2 separate regions of the Homo sapiens genome follow, and region 2 is linked to region 1. Evidence: promoter capture Hi-C in 16 types of primary human blood cells and fetal thymus (Javierre and others, 2016). All regions are on one chromosome and are shown on one strand. Each heading gives the region's core, a stretch centred on a gene start or on the middle of the fragment in contact. The rest is flanking DNA. Distances are from core to core; before and after follow the strand shown. Region 1 holds the start of EGFLAM-AS5 (EGFLAM antisense RNA 5). Region 2 has its middle 23 kb from the start of LINC02104.

Region 1 (7,837 bases), core at 1,342-3,841:
GATCTTAGGCCATTCAGCTGAATTGAAGCTAGAAGAGCTGTTGCTAATGAGTTGTTGTTCCACGAAAGTGTTATCCAGAGAAAAATGCAATGACCCAGGGATGCAGGCCTGGGAGTAGAACCATTTGCCTCTGGGTGGGAAGCAGATGAGGCTAAGGGGAGAAGAGTGACGTGATGACAGGGTCAGGGGAGTAGGGATCTGACAGGTGAGAGAGCAGCAGAGTGGAGGGACCCAGGAGGAGCTGGTGACCTGGGAGGCTCAGGGTCAGAGGACAGGGTAAGAGACAGTGTATCCCATGTGGGCTCCTGGGTGTCCTGTTGTCTCTCTATGTGTATCTGCTGTCATGGCCACAATAATGCTGCATAACAAAAATCACAAAACTGCAATGGCATGCAGCAACGAGTGTTTATTCCTCATGCGCCTTAAGTGGTCAGCTTGGCAGCTCTGCCAGTCTTGGTTGGGCTTGACTAGGTGGATCTTCCGGTGTCCGTTGGACTTGCTCACACGTGTCAGGGTTGCTAATTCAGGACAGCCTTGGCTGGGTTGGTGAGGTGGCTTGTGTCTGCTCCGTGTGTTTCTTGTCCTCCTCCTGGGCTAATGGGCTGGCCTGAGCATGCCCTTCTCCTAACAATGGGGGAGGGCACGAGCACGAGAGTAAAGGTGGAAGGCCTTTCACAGCCTCGGCTTGGCACTGCCACACCCCAGTCATCTGTGGATTCAAGAGAGGAAGAAACGGGCCGGCCCCCACGTGACATATGGGCTCTTCTCCAGCATGAGAGAACTACCAAGCTGCCCGGTGGAGGGCATGGACTCAGGAGCAGTGGAAAAGCGTCACTGCTGATGCAATCGGTCTACCCCAGCAAGTCCTACGTCATTCACAGCAGGGTGCAGTAGGGAGGCCGTGACCCCCTGGCCATAGGTCTTCTCCGACCTTCTTTAACCCTTGGGGCTGGAGGCGAGGTCCATGATGTTCTCAGTGCCCAGCCAGGCCAGGCCTGATGCGAGCAGCACCCGCCCTCCCCCATCGCAATGCGGTGCCCTCTCTTCCCCTTGCCCTCCTTCCACATGCTCCCTGACACTTGGCAGCTGGCCCCGTTGCTGTTCTGAGGAGGAGGGACTGGACCGGCTGGAAGATGGGATCTGTGCCTGGCTTTTGGGTAGCCGCTGTGGGGAGAGCATGTTGAAGGCTGGCCAGGCTCTTGGCTGAAGAGAAAGGTTTGGGGTGTCGCCAGGGAGCTCAGAGGCTAACAGCAGTCCCTGTCCTAGGGAGGAAGGATGGAGTGGGGCACGGGATCCTGAAAAGCTTTTCTCCCACAATCAGGGTCTGAGGAAATTCCCCGGAACCTCCCACATGTTCGAAGCAAGGGTGACCGGGTGTGGGGTGAGGATGTCCTTGCTTTTCCTATTAAGATGGCCTCCCATAACCCTGCATGTTCCTGGAGGCCCCACCTCAGGATTTCTCTCAGGAAGGTCTGTGGGGGTCTTCTGTGTCCCCCTTCTGCGGCTGCCCAGGCAGCTGCCCCGGCCTGCCCGCCGCTCTGAAGGCCGTGCCACTCTCCCACCCTGGTATTTGTCTTTCATTTCCTGACCCAGTCCTGCTCCCTTCTCCCGGCCCTCCAACACAAACAGGCCGGCTGGTGTCCACACACAGACTGCCCTGCTGGCACGGGCACTGGCGCTTTCCTGCTGCTGCCCCCTCTCCTTCCTCCCTGCCCACCTCCTCCCCTGGCCCTGCAGGAGCTGCTACCCCCTCCCTGCGTGGGAGGAAGGAGCTCGGAAAAGCGCCCGGAGTTGGAGCTGGCAGGCCCAGGGCTTTCCACTTGGAGGAAACGCTGCATTTTTCACCTTTAACCCAGAAAAATATGGTTCTCAGAAAGCTTGTTTTTAGCACTGTGAGTTCCCAAAGGAGGAAGAATAGGCAGTAGGGGGGCCCCCAGCCTCTCTGAGCTCCGACAGCAACCCCCACCCCAGAAGGCCGTTCTTCCTGGGAGGGAATGACCGAGGGGCAGCCTGCAGAGGCCCAGCTCCGAGAAAATAAAGGCAGAGAATTCCAGCTCCAAGCGGAAAGACAATACTTTAGGAGAGGAGCCTGGACAAGGCATGAGCCGCTTCCCACCTCCTCCCTGCCTCTTCCAGCTCCTGCCCAGTCCAGGAACGCATAGTAGTTGCCCTTGGAGCTGGGGGTCAGTCCGGGCGTGCCCACCACCGCCCAGACCCTTAGCTGAGAAGGGGGTAAGATTAGCTTATCAAAGGCGGGAACGACGTTCTCCAGCACTTTCTCCCTGCAGTGGGGAGAGAGCTGCCAGCATGGAATCAAAATTAGAATCTGAAATCAGGGGTCGTACAGCTTTAGCCCACTCCCACGTTATTTGTCAACATGGAGATGTGGGTCGTCCGACGGTATCCGAACTAGGGACTTATCCGGCACACGCTAAACAGAGAAGGGAAATGTAAGCAGCCCTACCTCAACCATTGTGAGGCCAGAAGTCCCAGGGCTGCCGGCATTTAAGCTGGTGGGTCCCGTGGAAGTGACAGGCTGCCGTAAGGAAGTTCCAGCTTACAGGTGGCTATGTTCGGGCCAGCAAAATGACTAATCCAATGCAACAGCATCAGCTGGCTTCTGGGCTAGGCCCTGTGAGTAACCGCACCGCAACCTCACAGTCAAAGAATGTTCACATATTTGATCTTCATAACAGTCCTCCTCCTATGATGGCTGGAGCAGATGGGCATGGCCTATTTGACTTAGGAAGACAGACACTGGCCACAAAGACTGGGTGACTTGCCCATGGTCCCATCACGAGGACGCAGCCACGATGCTGTCCCGTGGAGCTTTTCTGCCCTCACCCTGACCTCTGGTCAGGTGCAGTCTGCCCAGGGACACCCGCATTGTTGAGGGACATTCTGAGGCTCCCTTGGGTTAGCTGTCGTCTGCAGTATAGTCGTGTAAGTGAGGGAGATTCGGACAAAGGCCATGTCCCAAGAGTCTGCTTGCCAACGCATGCCAGTTTCTCATCACAGCCCTGAATCTGCCTTCTTTCAAAGGCCTTCTGTTGCAGGGACTCTGGGTTGAGCAAATCTGAAAGCAGAAACTAAAGAGCTAGTCCAGCAGGGTGGGATTCAGGCCCCTCTACGGGCAACTGGGTGTAGGTTAAATTCTTTTCCCTTCCCTCCTTTGCTTTCATCTCCACAAATAACCTCCATAACCCTGGGGAGTGGTTGCAAGCTATTTCTGCCCAGCAGCGTGTTCCCCTGGGCCCCTGCCTCGCCCCAGCCAAGCCACGAGCTGAAAGAACAGGGAAGGCAGCTGGGAAAGGCCTCCCCTGCCGCTCCTCTTCTTCCCGCTTGCTCTTGCTGAGGCATCTTTGTCCTAGAAAGTTCGTAGCTCCCAGGAGCACTTGCCATTTCCTGGAAAGACGGGAGAGAGAACATTATGTCTCAGCCCCTGGGAGGATGTCTCTTCTTTTCTATTTATCCATCTTGTCTTTCAGTTTTGCTCAAGATGCAAATGGTGTCCAGAGGCATAGAAATTTCCCAGCATGTGGCATGGCCTCCCCCGATGTCCCAGCTGCTCACCTACAAGCCAGGGCCCAGCCCGGGGCTATGACCTCCCCGAACAGCCTGCTGCCAAGGGGCTGCAGTTCTGACTTGGCTAGGAGAGGACTTGAGTTGGAATGTCTCTTCGAAGGAAGGCCAGGGAGGCTCAAGAAATTTGCCGTTTATACTCACTTAATAACAAAAGTAAGAGGCACCAGGCCAGGGGCTTAGCTAAGGAAAGCCCTGTTAGGAAATTGGCCAAAAGAAAGCGGAGGCAGAGAAAATGGACTATGAGGCAGAGAGAGCTGTGGGAGGAGAGGGGTATGGGGCCGCAGGGGTCGCAAGGCTCAGTGCGTGGTGACTTCCGGCCCTGCCGGTAGCATTCCATGTTCTCACTGAACGTGGGGTTCAGAGAGCAACTGTGGGGGTTCAGAATGAAATGGGGGGCCCTGTCTAATACAGTGGAAAGTGGAACACAAGCCGATTGCTTGTCCAGGTCACATTCACACCACCTCAGAAATGAAAGAAGCCTGGGCGATCTCTGTTCCAGCTCCACACGGGGCTAGAGAGGTAAGAGGATGTGCCCAAGGCTGGGGGCCTTATCCATGTGACTGCCTCTGGCCTGGAAGCTGGGAGCCCTTGGGAGTGGGTTGGGAGGCTTTGGGGGTGGGGAATGGAGGGTGAGGAGCGGATGGCCTGCGGGCCCTCGCAAGGATTACTGTAGTTGCCCCCTCCAGGCACTCGCCCACACAAGGTCGGTTGACATTTCATTGACACTCACTGAGGACGAGCTATTCACAAACCAGCCCCTGGCCAAAGTGCCAGTGAGGATATAAAGGATAGAGAGGACTCAGCTCCCCCTGTCAAGGTGTCGCCTGGGCTGTGGTCTCACCTGAGGCTCACTTGCTCTTTGTTTCTTCAAAGCCAGGGGAGACTTTCTTTAGGCAGGGCCCAGTCCCTCTCATAAGAGGTCTCCTCAATAGGTCGCCCACCCAGGATCATCGCCTATTAACTCCAAGTCAACTGATAAGTAGCCTAATTATGGGAGTGACAACACACCATTTCCACAGTTCCATGCAAGCATCTCGGGGGCCTTCGTAGAGTCCTGCCTACCACAACCCTGATCAACTCTAACTTTCAGTCTCTCCCACCTCCAGATGATACCTCCCCAAAAACCAAGTTCATTTTCCTAAAATGCACCCTCTGTCCTGTGCCATCCCAACTAAAGGCTATGCCACGGTCAGCTGTGTCCCTAAACAATGAGTCAAACACTCATAAGATAAGGGGAGTTCTGTTCTCAGAGAGCATAACCGTACTTAAAAATTCCTATTTATAGTTCCTGAAAATCCTGTGTTCCTGGGGTCCAGGGACCCTTTGCCATGACTAAGGACCTAGGCTGGGGTACAGTTGATGGTGTGGGTGCCCAGGGGGATTGAGGAAATTGTCAGGCAGCTGCCCTTTCCAGTGGCCACTCAGCATGACCCCAAGCAGCCCACAACTTAGAGGAAATAGCAGGGAATCCATGGAACTCTGCATCAGCATCTTTGGTAGCCAGTTACTTATAAAAGACAGTATTTTATGACACAGAAAAGTTGGTTTGGGTGTTTTTGTGTATAAGGTGCCAATGGCTTTTAGTATGAAATTCAGATGTCAAACTAATGCCAAACACTTTTGCTTGACTTTCAAAGTTATCCATTATTTAATGAAAAGTATGAATATAGAAAAATGTCCAGAATACAGAATAGTTCATCCATACATTGGGATTTCATATATCCATGAAAGAGTACCATATATGAAAAGATTTTCAAAATATGTGAAATAAAAATTCAAGTTCCAAAACAGAATCTACAATTCTTTTATATATGCACACATATACATATATATGAATAGACATGTACATATATACACACACATATTCACATAGGAAAATATTTCCGAAAGGATAAAAAGTAAAATGTTGAAAAGACCTAATGCTGCATAAAAAGATTGCGTGGGCCCAGCATGGTGGCTCACCCCTGTAATTCCAGCACTTTGGGACGCTGAGGCAGGCAGATCACGAGGTCAGGAGTTCGAGACCAGCCTGGCCAACATGGTGACACCCCGTCTCTACTAAAAATACAAAAAATTAGCCGGGTTTGGTGGCATCAGTCTGTAGTCCCAGCTACTGGGGAGGCCAAGGCAGGAGAATCGCTTGAACTCCGGGAGGCGGAGGTTGCAGTGAGCCGAGATCACACCACTGCACCCCAGCCTGGGTGACACAGCGAGACTCTGTCTTGGAAAAAAAAAAAAAAGATTGTGTGATTTCTTTTTCTTTTCCATTGATTTTCTAGTTTTTCTTCAGTGAGTATTTTTTGTTCTGTCTACTCAGGATATCACCTCTTTTGGAGGGACTCATCTTTCTCCAACTCTTGTGAAAATGTCCTTTGAATAGAACCTATGTCCAGCCACAGGACTGAACCAGGAATGAGCACATGACAAGCCAGGCCAGAGTGCTCGCCAGATCACTGTGAGGACTCCCCTGATGGCAAGGCCATAAGCTTGGAGGAGCCTGGACCATGGGCCCAGCTGCTTGAGGAGGTCTTGCTTGAGGGAAGAAAGTTTTGTGTGTAAGGAGATACGTGTTATTTCCGGGTGGAATAGGAGACTACAGTGGTGTGGCCTGAGGAACATGCCAGGGCTTACCTGCCCACAAACTAGATGCCTGAAATATCAAAGCCAAGACTATCTTCCAGAGAAGCAGATATGCAGTTTGGGGAAGAGGGACGGGGGCCAGAATGGATCACTTGGTCATGCAAGTTGTCCATACAAGTTGGAAGGATATGGAGAACCTAACCCACAGAAAATGAAAACAAGGTTCAAATTGGGGAGGAGATGGCAGAGGGTGGAGGTGACAGACAATGTGTAGAAGGACTCTAACCTGTTGTCACTTCGGATAAAGGCCATTTATCTCCCATCTGCTGTTGTCAAAGAGGTAAGAAGGTAAGAGTAAATTTCTGTCTAGGGAGAATAAGGTAATTGCATTCAACACATCTTAAGCATCTACTTACTACAAGGCAAGATGGCCCAAATCTGGGGAAGGAGCTGCTTTGAGCTACTACAGGGAGCCTCCCATCCTTGTCCTTAACCAGGGTTCCCTTGTCTTGCACAGTCTGAGACTATCCCGCAAGGGATCACCCTCTGTAAAATAACATATTTCTAATAACCAGGGAAACACATTAAACCACGTTTTTCTCAAGGCGCATTTAAAGAATATTAATCAAGCACCTGAGATGTGGCAGATCCTGCACTAAGCTTCATGGATGTAAGAGCCCGAGACATTGTTCAATTCCCATTCCCAAATCAAGCGTTAGGATCGTGCTTGGTGCCGTGGGGACACACAGGCCTGGGAAGGCACAGGACTGAGGGCCTGGCGATGCTGGAAAAGGCTTCTCTGAGCCAGCAAGGCCTAAACTGGGCCCTGCAGATGGAAGAAGTCATCTAAGTGAAGCCCTTGTGTTCACTTTGTGGGGACAGATGCCATGGCTCCCCTGCAGGTCCTGTGCTGTGCAGCTTCTCTCTGTGTAAATGGGAGAGATGACCTAAGGAGCAGCTAAACAAGTGCGGAGGCATTTATACCTTTAAGGCCTTAGGTGTTCCTGTAGTTTCTGAAGAGGCATGGGTAACAAACATCCACTGCTGGGAACATGATGTACTCTGTCTAATCCTCCCCAGTCCTGCAAAGGTGGGCATGAAGAGCCACGTTTCAGAGACGAGGAAACGGGGAGAGGCTGAATAACTCTCCAAAGCTTATCCTGATAGTGAGTTGTGAAGCTGGGATGGGAGCCAGGCCTGTGAAGCCTCCCGCAAGGCAGCGGCTGACTCGGAAAAGGTGTGAACCCAGCCTCAGCCAACACAGGAAAGGAAAGGAGCGACAATGGTAATTGAGGAAATTAGAGTCTAGGTTCCATTCTGAAGGTGTCATGTTGCCTGCACTGGTAATTGGGCAATTTAGGACTAGGAGGGTCCATCTGTTCTCAACACTCTGCTTCCTCAAGGCTTTCAGTCCCTGGCTCGCATCAACTCCAAGGATGGTGTAGGTGAGGGGAGTATGCAAGTGCCTCTAGAGCTGGAAGAGGCTCAGCCTCGAGCAGAGTTACGGCAGGCTGAGGGCAGGAAGGGGAATAAAGATTTGTTTGAGCTGAGGCTTGACATTCTTTCATAACTTTGGAAGGTTTGGAGACAGAGGTTCATACACTGGGATTGCATTCATTTTAATGCTGTTTCCACTTAAAAGGTTTTTTATTTTTTTATTTTTATTTTTATT
Region 2 (7,837 bases), core at 2,674-5,173, 1.1 Mb after region 1:
AGGAATGACATGCTGTGACTTATGTTTTCACAGGATCACTCCAGATACACTGTTGAGAAAAAAGTATGGGGCAAGGGGAGATGAAAGCAGACAGACCAGTCTGGAGGCTACTGGGATCCAAAATCGACATAAGAGTTGCTTGGACTAGGGTGGTAACTGCAACTATGGAGATAAGAATTCAGATAGTAGATGTGTTTTGAAGGCAAAGCTCACAGAGAAAATACTAGAAAGAAATTAGAAACTGTGCATACACACATTTGTTTTTCCTAGGGCTTTTTTTTTTCTCTTTCAGTAAAAACCAGCTGATTGGAGATGGAAGCAATGTTGAGATGAATTGTTTTCCACACTGAAAGAAACACAACGTAGTTGGATGATAATGAGAAAACTGTAGTGGTAAGGAAAAACTTAAAACAGGGGCAAATGGCCAGAGCAATGTCCTTGAATAGATAAGAGGGGAAGGGAGCTATGCCAAGGGGAAGGAATGGCCCACTCCTGCTTAGCCCTCTGTACTCTGACCTGATACCTCCCAAACGCTTGAGTAGATCCCTTTTTAATGCTAATAACTCTGAAGGACGATCTATGTTAGTGGTTGTACTCTGAGTACTCACTGATGAAGAAAACACAGAATTATGACTTTTTTTTTTTTTTTTTTTTTTTTGAGATGGAGTTTTGCTCTTGTTGCCCAGGCTGTAGTGCAGTGGTGCGATCTTGGCTCAATGCAACCTCTGCCTCCTGGGTTCAAGCGATTCTCCTGCCTCAGCCTCCTGAGTAGCTGGGATTACAAGGGCCTGCCACTATGCCCAGCTCGACCTCCTGGGTTCAAGCTATCCCCTTGCTTCAGCCTCCAATATAGCTGGGACCACAGGTGCATGACATCACGTCTGGCTAATTTTTTGAGTTTTTGTAGAGACAGGGGTCTCACTTTGTTGCCCAGGCTGGTTTCAAACTGGGCTCAAGTGATCCTCGTGTCTAGGCTTCCCAAAGTGCTGGGATTACAGGCACCGTGCCCAGCCATAAATTCTCTTTATCATTGCACACAATCGATAGTTCCCTTTTATTTGAAAGTTTCTTCTGTGTTCTTCTTCAGAAACACCAGTACATTCTAAATGTCTCCTATCTCATTGATTGCTGTACAGCTATCAATGTATAGATATATAGCTCAGATATATATATATATATACACATATACATATATATATATATATAGAGAGAGAGAGAGAGAGAGAGAGAGCTGGGCATGGTGTTCCATATATACAGATATATATTCGTATTTTTAGTAGAGACGGGGTTTCACCATGTTGGTCAGGCTGGTCTCAAACACTTGACCTCAGGTGATCCACCTGCTTCGGCCTCCCAAAGTGCTGGGATTACAGGCATGAGCCACTGTGCCCAGCCTGACTTTATTATCAATACTAACAAGCATTAAATTACATTTAAGAAAAGTCATGCCATAGGCATTTTGTTATTGCGATTCAGACCATACCCAATGTCTGGTGCATATATAGACGAACATATCCCTTGAAACTCTAAAGATTTACGCCTACAGTTCACAATTTGGAAAGCTTGCTTTAGTAAAACTGCAAAGCCCTTGGTTTTCTGAATATGCCTGGGTTATTTTGTACATGCTGTTTCCTCCAGGAGGCCCTTTCATCTTACCCATCCTTAAGGGCATAGTATAGTTTCTCCTCCACTCAATCACAGTTAGACTTCACATTTTCCTTTGTGTTCCAATAACCATTTATTCTTTCTTTTTTTTTTTATTTTGAGACGGAGTCTCACTCTGTCACCCAGGCTGGAGTGCAGTGGCGTGATCTCGGCTCACTGCAAGCTCCACTTCCCGGGTTCACGCCATTCTCCTGCCTCAGCCTCCCGAGTAGCTGGGACTACAGGCGCCCACCACCACGCCTGGCTAATTTAACCATTTATTCTTGCACTTTGAAATACTCGTACTCCATTTATGTAATAATTGAATATACAACTTAAACCTTTGCACCCTTAAACACTAAATATATGTCATGTGCAAATACATATGTGTATACATATGTTTTCTCTTCTATCGTCTAAGGTTATTTCAGAATGAAACTATGTCGTGTTCATTTTTGTTTTCCAAGAGCGGATAGTTCAGACTAAATGGAACAGAAAAATGTGAGAGATTGGATTTATTTTGTGGTGTTCCAGAGGACAGAATTTAGATTAGTGGGCAAAGTGGAGAACAAGATAGACTTGGCTTAATAAAAGGAAAGACTGAATGACGTTTTGAAATTTTAAAAATGGGATAGACTGTTATTGAAGACAATGAGTAACTGAAACTAGCCAAGTAATTTTTCTCCCTACGACTATTTAAGTTCCTAGCACTATACCAAGTATATAACATATAGTATCACATTTAGTCTTTATAATGTTCTAACAAATAGAGGCATTTTAGTCATCCCGGTTTTACTTGAAATGGTCAAGCAACTTGGCTCAGTATGCAGCTTGTAAATGACAGTGCAGGAATTAGAACTTGAGTCTGGGTAATGTTCGGCTCTAGATATTTAACCTGAATGCCTTACTGTGTAGGAGGGATTCTCACGTTGGGTAGAAAGTAAAAGTTACAAAGGTTGCAAAGGAATATAAAATACTAAAAATATGCAAATGACCTAAGTAGCTTCCTATGCTTTGAGTATAGTTGAGCAGGCCTGCTTTCAACAAAAGAGGGGAGAGATAGGCCCTTGAAAGAGAGAGAAACCAGTCTATAGTGAGGGGCTCAAGATAAAAGTCTTTTACTTCTTTTTACCTCCATTTATTCTAAGATCGAAATTATCCTTGATTCAGGATGACAACGGGTCAAAGATCATTGATAACCATATTCTGATGAGATCAACATCCAGTGGGGCTTTGGGTAGCTTCGAAGACTGCTTCAAATGTTGAGAGGACACATGAGCCCTTGGTCACTGGGCATGACTCATAGACTATGTCATTAATATCACCACGATTCTCAGCATATGCCTGAAGTACAGCAAGCACTTTATTAATCTTATCTCCTTTCTCCTGAGTTATCTTTGAGTCCATACATATTCTGAAGTAGTTTTTTATTAGAATTAACATATAAAAGAATCGTTTTTTATTTGATAATGTATTTTCTATGAATATAAGAACTAATACTGTACATTTATATGGTGAGCCACTGATCTAGTTCTTCACAAAAGGAGAATGACATATTTTTGAAAATCTTTTATTCTTGATGTATTTATTCAAGAAAATATACAATTAAGTAGCTATATGGGACTAAGATGTTGAGCAAAAAAAAAAATCCTATATGAACTTTCTCATCATATTTCAAGATGCTTGCTCTTTCAGCAAATAATCTGACTTGACATTGAAAAGCTCGGAGGACTGAGGGAGGTATTACCATCTCATTCTATTGTTTCTGTTAGTTATTTTGATAATCCACTCAGCATAAGTGAAGAAAGCTTTATTCAAGTGAACATCAACTTCACTTTCCATTGAACTGTGACCTTAAAAAACCAATCTCTTAACTTCCTTTGGGGAGACATATGACTGACTGCCTTGTCAGCAAGCTCCTTTTCCTGAATCTAAGTTATTTCCTTTCCTACAGAGAAAAATTGCTGTTATCACTTCCAACTGTTTTAGTAATGGCCCTTTTCATGTACAGTAAATGCTTTTTTTTAAGTGCATGTCTCTTCCTTTTTGCTTATTAGCTCAAAATTTGTTTATCCTAAAGAAAAATGTAAGGATATAAGCACATTTCATGTTCTTTGGAAAAATCAGCATTTACACAGATTTCCGACACAAAAGACAGCTAAGAGTTCTCCAAAAAGTCTATTTTAAAACATACATTTCAAATATCTAAACACAAGAGAAGCATGGTCTAGTTAAATCCAGCATCACCCAAATACTTCCCAATTTCTTTATCTTATGAGTTTTTTTTTTTTCAGTTTTTATTCTATGTGGCTTTTCTCTAACACTTCACACTGGAACTGCTTCAGTCGGGCTGGACATTTCCTCTTTCCTTGGCTTTTGAGACACTGGTCCATCCTGATTTTTTTCTCTTGATATCTTTATCTCCAGCTTCTTCACTACCTCCTCTCCATCCTTTTTCAGTTCTTTAAGTGCTCTGTCCCAAGCTCCCTGCTCCCTTTACATACTCTAACTGGACATTCTCTCGTGCACTCACCTAGCTTCAAGCCTCCTCTATTCACTGATTGTTCCCTCATTTAGCCAGTCTGCTTTGAACTCCAGGCCCAAATGACTCCTGGGAAGCTCCTCCTAGATGTTCTTCATCACCTTAAAGTATTGCATCTCCAAATGAACTCATTCTCTTCTTCTCAGCCAGTTCTTCCTGTGTTTCCTATCTCAGCAAGAATATCTGCATATCTTACACGTCCAGACACCAAAGCTTAAAATCCCTTAGTCATTCTCAATTTAATTCTACTATTAAAGATTTCTCATCTCTGTTCCTTCTCTTCCTTCCTCATTGTTATATACTGAGTTCATGCACTCACCAGCTCTCCAGATCATGTCGTCTCCCAACTCCCTAGTTGCTCATCTATTTCATATTGATATTGAGACTTACTGTTAAAATGGTATTCCATGCATCATTATTTCACTTTAAAACCTTTAACAATTCTCCATTTTATATACAGAAAAATTCCAAACTCCTTAACCGGTTTGGAATTTCCCATTTTCAATTGGAATTTTCACTCCTTACCAGTTAAGGAGCTTGGAATTTGAATCAATTGATTTGGTGAGGCCCAGCCCTCACTATATTCTCACCACCCCGCTGACAGAGGCATAGGCATTAACTGCCTCACAATCTTTGTATCTTTTTGTCTTTGCTCATGCCATTATTATCTCTACTTGATATTATTTCCTCTATTTTTTTTTCCTGCCCGATGATCGATGCCATTCATTTTTTAAGAGCCCTTTCAAATGCCATCTCTTCTTTAAGTCTACCTTGCCTTCTCCAGCTTTGTATGTTCTCCCTCTGCCCTGACTGCCCTCAGCCCCTACCTTCACACTGGCATCCACAGTCCTGGATTTTAAATACTATACAGTAGGAAATGGCATTTAGAGAGCAGGGAATACATTTTCTTCTTCTCTGAATTATAAGAGTCTATCATTTTGTTCAACTTGTGGTAGGCATTTAGTTCTTATTTGCTAAATATGTTGAATTAATGGATGATGATGAAAAAATCTTAACAGCGGCCCAACTGAGGCCAAATACCTATTCTAAATATCCGTATGTTATCTGTATTTTTTTTTTTTTCTTCCAAGGAACTTTGTTTACCTTCCACATGTAAGAAGCTCTTAGTGGGACTTCTGAGGTTGGTAATTAGGACCAAGGCTGAGGACAGGAAAGTATTTAATATCTGAACTGACAGTCACCAGAGTCAGAGCCAAAGCTTCTTAAGAGGTGATGGATGCAGCAAACTGCTGCCAGCCTCCGTCTTCTATATAATAAGACTGGGAACAAGACAGAGAGGAGCAGATCCAAGGGTCATTAGAATGCGGTGCGTTTGAGATAAGAGGAAATTCCCTGCCTTCCCCAAGGGAGGGAAGGGAAATTAGAGTACCTGGTCTTTCTTCCTAAAACCTCCTGAGAGGCTCTAAGAGACTCATTTACAAAGGCTGTCATATAATTTAGTTACCTAATTGGACATCTGCTGAGGAAAAGGACTTGTGGATTTACCTCTTCATCATAGGAGCAGGGGAGAACAGTCTTGGAGAGAGAAGAGATGTAGGGGTAGTGTGGATTCACCCAGTTTCAGAGCCAAGACAGGTGATGCCTGAGGTTCAAGTGGATGCTACTTTGAATGTAGCTGGGCTTGTTCAACCTCCTTTCCAAGACAGATTCCCGGCAACACGAGGCCATGCACTATATGGCCAGCAGTGAGAGCTCAGGGGCTTGAAAAAGTTGGCTTAAAATCACTGAAGCTCCAAAAACTCATACCTTTATTCCCCAGAGCTAGAATTTGAAGGCCTGCCTTGCAGATGATATCAACAGCTAGGCTGTGCTGGCCAGAAAAACAGCAGGAACCAAGAGGGAAAGGTTATGATAGCAGCCTGCTAGCATTACACTCTTTCCTTTCCCTGTTCTACCTCTCAGCTCGATACCATGAAGAGGAATACAACAAGGGGAATGCAAGGTGATGGTGTACCTGAGGCAGACTCCTAATTAGAGAGGGTGCCCGTTCCTACTTGCACTGGGTAAAGTGGAAGAGGAAAGAAGGGGAGAATAAACTAATGTTTGATGTTTTAAATTGGACTAAGCCTTAATATCAGAAAGCAACTGGAAACTATGGAGCTACCTTAGATGCCAGAGGAGAATGAAGTGTTGGTATAAAATAATTGGAAAAGAATGATTTAGAAATACAAAGCCTTCTTATTTCTGATTAAGTTAATACTGCTTAATAAATGAGATGTTTATGTAAAATTATTGAAATTCATTGAACGTCTGCAAAGAAAGAACAATTTCAACCCCAGACTACTATCAATGCAAACCTTCCATTACTGATTTATTGCTGGATCCGACAGGTAATATCTCATTCACTACATCTCTAATGAAGTCTCTGGAGATCAGGGTCCCCTTGGAGGACACACAGAATGCACAGTCTTATTCTAATTAAAAAGAGTTCATTGTGTAAAGAAGAAACAAACATGTTAGCCCCAAGAGACATGTTAGCCCTGCTTGGGCCACAGTTCAGAATGAGTACCTAGCCAGTTACAAGATGCTTCAGAACTTTCTGTATCCAGTGACAGCCCAGCTGATAAGTATATCAGAAAGGATATTACTGTAAGCTAGTCATATTTGAAAATAGCTGATATGTTAGCTCTTTTTTATTGAGAGCAGATATACAAAGTATTTCATGATGCTATAGGATATTAACAATTATTTCTCTCAAAACTCTTCTGAGGGAAGACTCGGCTATTATTGAATGAGTTCTGTTGAATTCTCTCTGTTCCCTCAATTCTTCTACCTCCACTGCATAAATATATATTGCATACTGGCCAAGTGCAATGACTCACACCTGTAATCCCAGTACTGGGAGGCCGAGATGGGCAGATCACCGGAGGTCAAGAGTTCGAGACCAGCCTGTCCAACACGGTGAAATCCCGTCTCTACTAATAATACAAAAATGAGCCTGGCATGGTGGCAGGCACCTGTAATCTCAGTTACTCAGGAGGCTGAAGCAGGAGAATCGCTTGAACCTGGGAGGCGGAGGTTGCAGTGAGCCAAAATTGTGCCATTGCACTCCATCCTGGGCAACAGAGTGAGACTCCATCTCAAAAAAAAAAAAAAAAAAAAGACGTATATTGCATACTGTATTCTTTGCTTGCTGACTCTGTTACTGCCAGCCCTCTATCAGTTTCAGTCTATTTTCTGGACAATTTATTGCCTTCTCATATCCTTTTCCCCATAATATCTCTGAGAATCTGAAATGCTTTGCTGTAATGAAACTCCTTAGCCCATATAATATCAGCCTTTAAGGTGATTGTATTGCTTATACACCTGGTCTGAGAGATCATTGATTTTCAAATTCTTCCTTGAAAATCGTCTCTTCTGTTCTTGAATCCCCTATGTCCCAATCAATTCCCCATGAAGTCCATCTTTTCCAGGACTCAATTCACCTGAACTTCAGCATTCTCTTTGGCCAGCCTTCCCTGGAAGTCTACTTAGGGGGCATAGTTGACAATAATGTATATACAGCAGCCACAGAAATGTCTATGAGAGATATCAATATTTTTCAGATTTTAACTTCTGAAGTTCCTACAGGTAAGTGTTTTGTTGATGCTAGAAGAAAACAAGTTATAAGAGGTGTGTGAGCTTGATAAT

The links. Contacts are between HindIII fragments. The CHiCAGO score rates a contact against its expected background, and 5 or more counts as called.
Region 2: a fragment that was not itself captured here is called in contact with the fragment with the promoter of EGFLAM-AS5 in region 1 in 1 of 17 cell types (naive CD4 T cells); the score reaches 6.0 in naive CD4 T cells.

Annotation. Positions count from the first base shown.
Region 1 is chr5:38,465,775-38,473,611 of GRCh38, forward strand. EGFLAM-AS5 (EGFLAM antisense RNA 5) reads right to left here and starts at 2,592. Exons shown (of 2, transcript NR_199676.1): 1 at 2,465-2,592. RefSeq lists enhancers at 492-1,691, 3,059-3,930. The HindIII fragment of the contact is 4,194 bases long and covers 1,876-6,069 here.
Region 2 is chr5:39,539,193-39,547,029 of GRCh38, forward strand. No RefSeq gene overlaps it. Among named protein-coding and RNA genes, the nearest start is that of LINC02104, 23 kb to the left of the region's middle. The HindIII fragment of the contact is 947 bases long and covers 3,451-4,397 here.